Regions from separate parts of the Homo sapiens genome. Here region 1 is linked to region 2. Evidence: promoter capture Hi-C in 16 types of primary human blood cells and fetal thymus (Javierre and others, 2016). All regions are on one chromosome and are shown on one strand. Each heading gives the region's core, a stretch centred on a gene start or on the middle of the fragment in contact. The rest is flanking DNA. Distances are from core to core; before and after follow the strand shown. Region 1 holds the start of OR5M11 (olfactory receptor family 5 subfamily M member 11). Region 2 holds the start of OR5M10 (olfactory receptor family 5 subfamily M member 10).

Region 1 (5,740 bases), core at 2,000-4,499, 34 kb after region 2:
TTCCTACTGTGTCTTTTTAAATCTGAAATTCCCACATCCTGATATATTTTCTCTCATTTTTCTTTGTTGTAACCACTGAAACTGTACTCTGGTGAAGGCCATTGATACTCTTGATAGGAACTTGAAATGAGTAACACTTAACGTGAGAAAGATTTGAAGTGAATAAGAGTAAAGTGAAATATCTGTAGTTTAGGGAGCTTAGCTGGATTTTCTGCACTTTGCATTAAGTGTGTGTGTGTGTGTGTTTGTGTGTGCACATACACACACAAATTTCACTCAGTGATAGTTTCCAAAGAACCATTACATCTGGTATCCTTGTATTTGCTCGTTATCCTTCTGTAGACCCAGGAAATCTGAGACAGGTCTCAGTTAGTTTAGAAAGTTTATTTTGCCAAGGTTGAGGACACACCTGTGACACAGCTTCCAGAGGTCCTGAGGACATGTGTTGAAGGTGGTCATGGTACAGCTTGCTTTTATACATTTTAGAGAGACATAATCTATCAATCAATACATGTAAGATTTACCTTGGTTTGGTGCAGGACAACTCAAAGTCCAGGTTGGGGCAGCGTGGCGTGGCGTTTCCAGGCTGTAGGTAAATTTAAATATTTTCTGGTTGACAATTGGTTTGTCTAAAGACCTGAGATCAATAGAAAAGTCTGTGTTATGTTAATGCTGGAGAGGAATAATGAGGCATGTCCGACCCCCATTTCCCTTAACCGCCTGAACTAGTCTTTCAAGTTAAATTTTACAAGCCCTGGCTGAGGAGGAAGTCCCTTTATTTATTTTTGGTTTACACTTCTTATGATATCCTTCTTAGAAGTTTTCTTGCTACAGTTGTTGCCATAAACTTTACTTTTTTTTTTTTTTTGGTAGAACCTTACTCTGTCGCCAGGCTGGAGTACAGTGGCTGATCTCCGCTCACTGCAACCTCTCCATCCTGGGCTTGAGCAATTCTTCTGCCTCAGCCTCCGAAGTAGCTGAGATTACAGGCACGTGCCACCACACCTGACTGATTTTTGTATTTTTAGTAGAGATGGGGTTTCTCCGTGTTGGCCAGGCTGGTCTTGAACTCCTGACCTCAGGTGACCCACCCGCCTCAGCCTCCCAAAGTGCTCGAACTACAGGCATGAGCCATCCTGCCTGGCCAAACATTACTTTTTTAATGAGGTCTTCCTTGACTTTCCTTTCCCCAAAACTGTATTTCCTTTATTTTTCTCCACAACAGTTATTTGAATATTATTTATTTACTTGAAATAATAGCTCTCTCTGTCCACTAGAATGGGAAAACCAAAAAAAGCAGAAATTTTTGAAAGGTTTGTTCGCTTCTGCATCTATAGTGCCCAATCACACAAAATATTGAGTATCAGTAAATACTTGTTTCATGAATATCTATTTTGATGCCCAAAATGACATGAGAAGAGGAAAGATAAATATTATTATTTCCATTTACACATGGGAAAACACAGTGATTCATTCAGTTGCAAAGCTTTTAAATTACTGAAGTAACTCTGTAATCCAGGGCTCCTAACCAGCTCCTAACATCAAGATATGTCATAGCTTCTACTTGATATTTCTTAGATATATCACATACAGGTACTCAAGGGCACAAGTCAGTCACATAGTAGAACATGACTAAGTGTAAGGAGAATGTGTCTGGCACAATCCTGTTTATCATGGTGCACTATGTAAGAATGCCATGACTATCTGTGTCCCCAGAAGTTCCTTATCATCATATATCTCAAGGCCTTCCAGGTCTATACATACAATTTTATGAAACAGTTTAGCTTTAGAAAGGTGATATGTATTGCAGCAGCAGCTAATAAAGGAAGTTTTTAAAATACATAATTTTCAGTTCTTACCTCAGATTCTCAGATTGTATGCACTAGTAGTGTGACCTCGGTTCAATTATTTAACCTTTTTGTACGTTGCTTTTCTCAATAGTAACAGCAAGACAGAGTTTTGATTATAGGCATTCTAAAACTTACAGTAAAATAAATGAGGTGACTCATTTTGAGATGAGACAAGAATTGAGAAGCCTGTAATAAAAATTTCAAGTATGAAAGAATGGGCAAAAATTAAAAACTTCTCGAAAGAAAGGAAAATGTGAATTAGCAAAGATTCTGATGTGAAGAGAGGTAAAAAGCCAAAAGGATTTGTAATACCTCTTGTTAGATACAAGTTGTGATTAAAAGATTAAATACCAACTCTGAAAATATTAATTTATTTTCTTTCTAAACACATTAAGTCATTGCTCTAAACATCCTCAAGATACTATATGAAAATTTATTTTATTTCACAGTTCTTTGTTCATTTATTTGGCATATGTTTATTGAGCCATTCTGACTGTGCATTTTGAGCTATGATCTTGGAACACTTGCATTAGAATCCTACAGATAATCATTAGAGATGAAGATTCCAGTACCCCACATAAGAATTTCTGCAAAAACCTGTGATATGGGCTAATAAACAAGCTTCCCAAGAATTGCTTCTACACTAAGTTTCAATAATCACTTAATTCTCCTGAGAACATGACATCACGCAAGGCTACATGGAGATAAATCTGTGAGTAAAAATTGCAAGTCATTCATTCTTACATGCTCTCCTTTTTGCATTTTAAGAAAATTTAGTATAAAAATATGTGTTGAGAAGTATAATTAAAAAATGAACTTCACTTTGTCCCTGCTCTCAACACCATTATGTGATGAGAAAGTATATACTTTATAATGATACAATGGGGGCTAAATAATAAATTAGAGAAATATAGAATACTCTGGAAATAAAGAAGAGAGAATTCAGTGACACGTATTAGGAGAAATGGATGAGAAATGCTTCACAAAGAAGTGGCCTTTAAAGTGGGTCATGTAGCATGAATAGAATTAGGTTTTAAAAAGTACAGGAAGATAGAAGAGATGTAGCTCAGTCATATAGATAGATAGATAGATAGATAGATAGATAGATGATGGATAGATAGATACAGGTGTAGGTATAGATATATCTATAGGTGTAGAGAAAGAATATATTAGTAATGTAATGCCTAGGCAAATGATATAATGACATTGTAGACTTACAAAATTATAGTAAGTCTACCATAATTACCAAAACCAGTTTATGGTAGTACCCAGAAATAGATAACTTTCGATGATATATGAAGATGTGGAGAAAAACTAATTCAAATGAACATTAACATGGTATGTGCATTTGTTTATATTGGCTTTATTTCCATAGCTTGAAGAGCAAACTGTCAGGAAATGTCCAACACAAATGGCAGTGCAATCACAGAATTCATTTTACTTGGGCTCACAGATTGCCCGGAACTCCAGTCTCTGCTTTTTGTGCTGTTTCTGGTTGTTTACCTCGTCACCCTGCTAGGCAACCTGGGCATGATAATGTTAATGAGACTGGACTCTCGCCTTCACACGCCCATGTACTTCTTCCTCACTAACTTAGCCTTTGTGGATTTGTGCTATACATCAAATGCAACCCCGCAGATGTCGACTAATATCGTATCTGAGAAGACCATTTCCTTTGCTGGTTGCTTTACACAGTGCTACATTTTCATTGCCCTTCTACTCACTGAGTTTTACATGCTGGCAGCAATGGCCTATGACCGCTATGTGGCCATATATGACCCTCTGCGCTACAGTGTGAAAACGTCCAGGAGAGTTTGCATCTGCTTGGCCACATTTCCCTATGTCTATGGCTTCTCAGATGGACTCTTCCAGGCCATCCTGACCTTCCGCCTGACCTTCTGTAGATCCAGTGTCATCAACCACTTCTACTGTGCTGACCCGCCGCTCATTAAGCTTTCTTGTTCTGATACTTATGTCAAAGAGCATGCCATGTTCATATCTGCTGGCTTCAACCTCTCCAGCTCCCTCACCATCGTCTTGGTGTCCTATGCCTTCATTCTTGCTGCCATCCTCCGGATCAAATCAGCAGAGGGAAGGCACAAGGCATTCTCCACCTGTGGTTCCCATATGATGGCTGTCACCCTGTTTTATGGGACTCTCTTTTGCATGTATATAAGACCACCAACAGATAAGACTGTTGAGGAATCTAAAATAATAGCTGTCTTTTACACCTTTGTGAGTCCGGTACTTAATCCATTGATCTACAGTCTGAGGAATAAAGATGTGAAGCAGGCCTTGAAGAATGTCCTGAGATGAAATATTGTCATGACCATGGTGATGCCTTTGTTTCCTAATAAACATTAAATCGAAATCTTTGGCTCACATGTCCTAGCGTTCTGATGGTGAGTTTTAATATTCTCTGTGAGTCTATGTTGAGTGTCTCAGCTAAAAAGCTCATGCTGGGTAAAAATGAGATTTTTCTAGGCTTTGCTCCTCCACATATATTCCATGAATCAGCAGCATGAGCTCTTCCTTGGAGGTTGTTACACGTACAGAATCAAAGTCTGCACCTCAGGTGCACTGTATTTAAATATGTGTTTTATCCAAACTCCTAGATGATTGATAAGCACACTGAATTTTGAGGAGCACTGCTGTGGGTGAAACGTGGCATGCCCTGGAACACTGTTGTGCTCTTTTTGTTTACAATGGCAAACAAAATAAATGTGCTCCCAGCCCAATTTCTTGAATGTATTCTATTCTTATTCTCGCCTGCTGCTTCAGCAGAGATGTCTTTAAGAAACCCATTCTTCTGCACTCCAAGAAATCCATTCTTCTGTACTCCTTTCCTGACTTGCTGTGGTAGACCAGAAACTAGGGGCCATGGTGATGGCTTCTGGTTTTTATAAGTGCTCTTACATAGTGAAGAGTGGCAATGGAAAAAGAGGGGAAGAGAATGATTGTACTTTTCTTAAACTTGAGTTTATGGATCCAGCTCTCTGAGTTACATAAACCCACCTTCCCATTCTGAGCCTCCAGTGTATGGAGGTCACTTTCTGTTTCGCCTGATTTTGAAAAATTTAAGCAGGCTGATCTGAGAATAAGGACTAAAATTAAAATGGGAAATGAAAGAACCGAGTAAACAATAGGTCATACGATAGAGTATCCACCTTGCTTTGAATATTCCTTCTATTTGTAATTAAGTTTAGGTAAGTAATGTTAATTTTTTGTTTTCCTTAGCACTGGCCTGTTTATATGTGTCCAAGGAAGTAAGGATTTCTTCCACAGGAAGAGAAGACATTGCTCTGGCATCTTCAAGAAACTTTAGAAAGTAGAAAGAATTCCTCTTTAGACATTATGCTAAAATGAATTATTTAAGGAACAAGTAAAAAATATATTTTTTTAAGATAGAGTTTCACTCTGTTGCCCAGGTTGGAGAACAGTGGCATGATCATATTAATAACTTCCTCCAACTCCTAGGCTCAAGTGACCCTCCCGCCTGAGCCTCCCTAGTAGCTGGGACCACAGGTGTGTGCTACCACACTCGGCTAATTTTTAAATTTTTTTGTAGATCTGATATCTGTCTATATTGCCCAGGAAGGTCTTAAACTCCTGGGCTCAAGTGGCTCTCCTGCCTCAGCCTCCCAAAATGCTGGGATTATAGGCATAAATTACTGTGCCTGGTCAAGATTCTTCTACTCTCCAAACTTTCTACTTATTGCCTCAAAATACTAAATATTTTCTAAATATCTTTATTGGAAGGCAAATTCTGCCATTACGCCATTAGAAAATAAAAAGATAAAATATTTTGTGTATATATTAAGTTGTACATTAAGTAACTGTATTTATAAGGCTTCTGCATTTTGTTCCTGTTGTTGTTTGGGTTTGTTGTT
Region 2 (5,640 bases), core at 1,226-3,725:
TATATTGTGTTGACTGATTTCTCAAAGAATAACCACCATTTGTGATCTAAGAGAATTAGGGATGCCTCTTCTGTCTTGGTCAGAGCCCATTTTGATTCATTTGTGCTAACCTGGAACTATCAGTGCACTGGAAAATACAGACTAATGAACACATGTCTAGCTTCCCTTATCATCTAACAAATGCAGTGTAAACAAGTTTTAAATATTCTTCCTTCTATTTTCAGCCCTATTCCTAAGTCAACAATTTTATGACTCATCAATTTTATAAACGGTCCTGGTCTCAGACCTGTCTTTGATTCTTAGCTTGTTAATGACTTTCAATAGGGCAGACTAGTTCCAGCATAAATCCAGAACGTCCGTCCTCCAAAGGACCTGGGCCCTGACCAATACTTCTGCTTCCTTCTACTGATTATGTTGTCACTCTGCTGCTCTCCACATCCTTACAAATCCTTCCTTTCCTCAAGTCTTTCAGCTGCCACACCTTTCTACCCCTCACCCTCAGTAAAGGACCTCACCCCAGTGTCTATAGACAAAACTGGAGAGTTCTGATGAAAACCTTCTTGGTTTTATTATATTAAAATTACAAAACTTATCTATCTATATTTTCCTTCTTCCATATTATTGAAAGTGATGGCTAGTTTCTCTGTTTGTGCTAAAGCTCTGATGAACACATGTAACAAAACTGTACATAAATGTTGTATAGGGATTTCATCTTCAAAGGAGAATCTAGCTGTTCAAACTATCAAATAAATGTTAAGCCCTTGAGGAACAAAGGATATTATAATTGGTTCTTTAGAATTACTTTAAAAATACTCTAGGGAATATAGCTAAGAAATATATATCTTGCCACCTTGCTTTACAAACTATGGTGAGTTAACATTAACAGGTAGGTCATTTGCTACATTTGTTCACTAAAAATACAACTTTTTCTGTGTGTGGAGATTAGTATCCAATCAATAGAGGAAACCCATATTTTCATCAATTTCACTGGACTTTTCTATTCATATGTTAACATTTCATTGACTCTAAAATCAATTATATGCAAGCTCCTCTGATGTATATGTGAGAGCTAAATAAGCAATTTCTTTAGGGTGCAAATTTTTGAGCAATAATTTTTACAGTCATAGCTTATTTTCATGAAGAACTCAGAGAGAGTGGCTTGAGTTGGCAGCAAAGACTGCTTTTAACAATGTTCTGTGATTCTCTAACAATATTTTAATAAGTAGTTTAGTGGCATATAAATGGAGACAAAAAAACTTCACTCTCTTCCTTCAGGTGCTATAATTGTTTATTTACTGTTCAAATGTTGCATTCTCAGAAAAGGCTACTTTGAATAGTCATCTAAAAGAATCTCACATTCATTGTTCTTCACAGACCCAGCTTTTACTTGAAATTATAATATGTATCTTTCTCTGTGGGTTTAACCATTATTTCTCATATTATAATGTGAGCTCCATGAAACTGGAAAATTTGTTCACTCCAATAACCCCAGGAATTGTAATACACACAAAAAAATCAAGCTATGCAGTCAGTGTACATGAATAAACAGGCAGGTAAAATTTCAAAGTGAAAAAACAGTTCTTGGTTTTGTATATTCTTAGCCATATATCAAGCACTAAGTTTAACTAATTTAATGTTCACTGACAATCATAGGTTTCTGTTTGTTTGTTTGTTTGTTTGTTTGAGACGGAGTCTCGCTCTGTCGCCCAGACTGGAGTGCCCTGGTGTGATCTCGGCTCACTGCAAGCTCCGCCTCCCGGGTTCACGCCATTCTCCTGCCTCAGCCTCCCGGTAGCTTGGACTACAGGCGCCCGCCACTACGCCTGGCTACTTTTTTGTATTTTGAGTGGAGATGGGGTTTCACAGTGTTAGCCAGGATGGTCTTGATCTCCTGACCTCGTGATCTGCCCGCCTCGGCCTCCCAAAGTGCTAGGATTACAGGCGTGAGCCACCGCGCCCGGCCGACAGTCATAGGTTTTAAGTGAAAATGCTACCTTAATTTTTTTCTTCTGTTTTGTATCTGAAATAATAAGATATCAGACATGGAGGGAAACTGAAGATTGGACTTCCTACATTTATTTATTTAAATGATGCTAATATTAATATCTGATATTCATTTCTTTGTTTTTTTTGTTCCCTCACAAACCTTGAAAATAATTACCAAATGTAGAATTCACCAAGAAGACAAGTATAAATGCATTAATGTATAAATTTATAAATGTATATATATAAGAGACAGAAATAGAGAATGTGCCTGTGTGTGTGTGGGTTTGAGATACAAAAAGAGACAGAAAACACACACATATAAAGAGAAAACGTTGTGCAGAAATTCTGATGTGTTTATTGAAAAAAGTAATTGGTGCCTAGATGAATAGATGAATGAGTGAATGATAAATGGATGAAACAAATGCCAAATCTGGATCAGAGAGAATCCTCACATTCTTTGTCACTTTCAGTTTTCAAGAAATAAGAAGATGTTGTCCCCAAACCACACCATAGTGACAGAATTCATTCTCTTAGGACTGACAGACGACCCAGTGCTAGAGAAGATCCTGTTTGGGGTGTTCCTGGCGATCTACCTAATCACACTGGCAGGCAACCTGTGCATGATCCTGCTGATCAGGACCAATTCCCAACTGCAAACACCCATGTATTTCTTCCTTGGTCACCTCTCCTTTGTAGACATTTGCTATTCTTCCAATGTTACTCCAAATATGCTGCACAATTTCCTCTCAGAACAGAAGACCATCTCCTACGCTGGATGCTTCACACAGTGTCTTCTCTTCATCGCCCTAGTGATCACTGAGTTTTACTTCCTTGCTTCAATGGCATTGGATCGCTATGTAGCCATTTGCAGCCCTTTACATTACAGTTCCAGGATGTCCAAGAACATTTGCATCTCTCTGGTCACTGTGCCTTACATGTATGGCTTCCTTAATGGGCTCTCTCAGACACTGCTGACCTTTCACTTATCCTTCTGTGGCTCCCTTGAAATCAATCATTTCTACTGCGCTGATCCTCCTCTTATCATGCTGGCCTGCTCTGACACCCGTGTCAAAAAGATGGCAATGTTTGTAGTTGCAGGCTTTACTCTCTCAAGCTCTCTCTTCATCATTCTTCTGTCCTATCTTTTCATTTTTGCAGCGATCTTCAGGATCCGTTCTGCTGAAGGCAGGCACAAAGCCTTTTCTACGTGTGCTTCCCACCTGACAATAGTCACTTTGTTTTATGGAACCCTCTTCTGCATGTACGTAAGGCCTCCATCAGAGAAGTCTGTAGAGGAGTCCAAAATAATTGCAGTCTTTTATACTTTTTTGAGCCCAATGCTGAACCCATTGATCTATAGCCTACGGAACAGAGATGTAATCCTTGCCATACAACAAATGATTAGGGGAAAATCCTTTTGTAAAATTGCAGTTTAGGCCTGTGTTTATTTGTAATCCCTAAGTGCCTGTGGGGTAACAAACTGAAATGGAAAAACCTAGTGTAGTTATTATTTAACAGTATGGGCTCTTAGTAACCACTTTAGTTTCTTCTCAAAATTAACACTTTGAAGATTTAGTTTTTAAAAATAAAAAGCTTAATGTTGAAATTAATAATGTTTTATTTGTCAGAGATTCTATGAATATAAATTGTTTGGTTTCTAATAATTCTGTATGAAAATACTGGGTTTACTTACTTGGGGGTAAACTTTTAACTAACTTAGCCTGAGAGAAACTCTGAAAATCCAACCCCTTTGAATATTACTATCCATAGAGCCATAGTGAGGCTCCAGATAGGGTGGCTAATTTTACATTTTTAAAAAAATGATGCCGGGCATGGTGGCTCACATCTGTAATCCCAGCACTTTGGGAGCCAGAGATAGGTGGATCACCTGAGGTCAGGAGTTTGAGACCAGCTTGGCCAACATGGTGAAACCCCGTCTCTCCTAAAATTACAAAATTAGCTGGTTGTGGTGGCACATGCCTGTAATCCCAGCTACTCAGGAGGCTGAGGCTGGAGAATAGCTTGAACCTGGGAGGCGGAGGTTGCAGTGAGTCAAGATCACGCCATTGTACTTACTCCACTTGGGCGACAAGAGCGAAACTCCATCTCCAAAAAAATAAATAAATAAATAAATAAAAAGAAAACGAAAAAAGAAAAAAATTGTTTCTACTTCAATGTGGTGTCTTGAACAATAGTTCTGAAACCTGTGAACTTATTGTAATCACTGTGCAAAAAATGTAAATATATGAATCACCTATAAGTTAAATTTTCTGTAAGTATTCTCAAAACCCACACTGTAAACATCGTGAGAAGCTTCTTATTGGTTCATGTGGTAATACCAGTTATGGTCCTCAATTCTGAAAATCAACTCTCAACACCCTTTTTTTTTTTTGAGTTTTCAAGTGCATGGATCCATTTCTATCATCAAAATACTTCAATTGCATTCCACGTATGTTTTCCAGTGAAGTACCTCTGACTTAGGAATAATTTAGTAGGAATCAATAGGGTTTATCAATTGATATTTGCATATGCATAAATGACTTTGTTAGTGGAAAAAGGGGTCTTGATCCAGATCCCAGCAGGGGGTTCTTGGATCTACAGAGGAAAAATTTCAAGATAAGCTGCAAAGTGCAGTGAGAAGAGATAGTTCATTAAATGCTACTCCAAAGAGATCATTTATTAAAGGCTATTGCATTACAGAGTAAGGTGTTCCCAGAAAGCAAGTGGAGGAATGCACCCTCTTTAAGTTTTTTTAATGGTCTTTTATCTACGTACAGACTAAAGTAAGTTGTGGCTACATGTGGGTAGGCTGACGGCATGACAAAATTTATCATTCTGTTGATTTAAAGAAAACGATCCTTGATATTTTAGTGTGTGCATAACTATTATTATCATGATAAAAGCATATACTCTTATGAGAATTGGGACACCTAGGTTCTCTTGCTGCATTATTAGCGTGTTCTTGTAGGTATTTTTAGGCTGTTTCCTAAACTATAAGCATCTTATGAACATGGGTCATGACCGGCCAGGACTGTGCCTTGTTAACCTCAAGACAGAGTTGATTTTAAAATGTTGTCACCCTGGATCTCCTAGACTCCTGCTTCTTTAACACCCTGAAACAGTATAAAAATTAATAGGGGCGTACGTATCTTTTTGGAGGAAATAGTGTTTATTTTGCTTCACACAACTGTCTGTGGCACATTATTTTTTTACATTAGGGTATTCTAGTTCTCAAAGCTACTACAGGGAAAATCAATCACAAAGAGGCTAAATAAAGATACACATTAATCAATGTATTATTTAGTCAACCAGATGACTGCATATTAATACATACATATTTAGCCCTATTAAATTGCCTCTTATGTTTGACATTTTAATATTTTGCACTCTGCTTTTAACTAACACTATACAGAAAATGCTACAGAAAATGCTTATATGATATCAACTACTGTATCTACTATAAAATGTTCAAGTGGTTTTCCAGAATATTAAACAGATGACTAACAGTTTTTGTAAAATTGGGTTATATTCTTAAGTGTCAGTTGGTTGAATAAGTCTGGTTCTATCCAAATCTGCTTTTAGAAACAGTAACTGAAAAAGAAAGAAGGCAATTTTGGGCAGCAACAATTTAATATTTACCTTTTAGCACTATTT

What was found. The method cuts DNA at HindIII sites, captures the fragments that hold promoters and counts their contacts. A CHiCAGO score of 5 or more calls a contact.
Region 1: the fragment with the promoter of OR5M11 here is called in contact with the fragment with the promoter of OR5M10 in region 2 in 9 of 17 cell types (neutrophils, fetal thymus, activated CD4 T cells and 6 more); the score reaches 10.7 in neutrophils.

The regions. Positions count from the first base shown.
Region 1 is chr11:56,540,766-56,546,505 of GRCh38, reverse strand. OR5M11 (olfactory receptor family 5 subfamily M member 11) reads left to right here and starts at 3,249. Exons shown (of 1, transcript NM_001005245.1): 1 at 3,249-4,166. The coding sequence starts at 3,249. The coding sequence ends at 4,166. The HindIII fragment of the contact is 1,332 bases long and covers 2,474-3,805 here.
Region 2 is chr11:56,574,556-56,580,195 of GRCh38, reverse strand. OR5M10 (olfactory receptor family 5 subfamily M member 10) reads left to right here and starts at 2,475. Exons shown (of 1, transcript NM_001004741.1): 1 at 2,475-3,422. The coding sequence starts at 2,475. The coding sequence ends at 3,422. The HindIII fragment of the contact is 7,953 bases long and covers 1-3,581 here.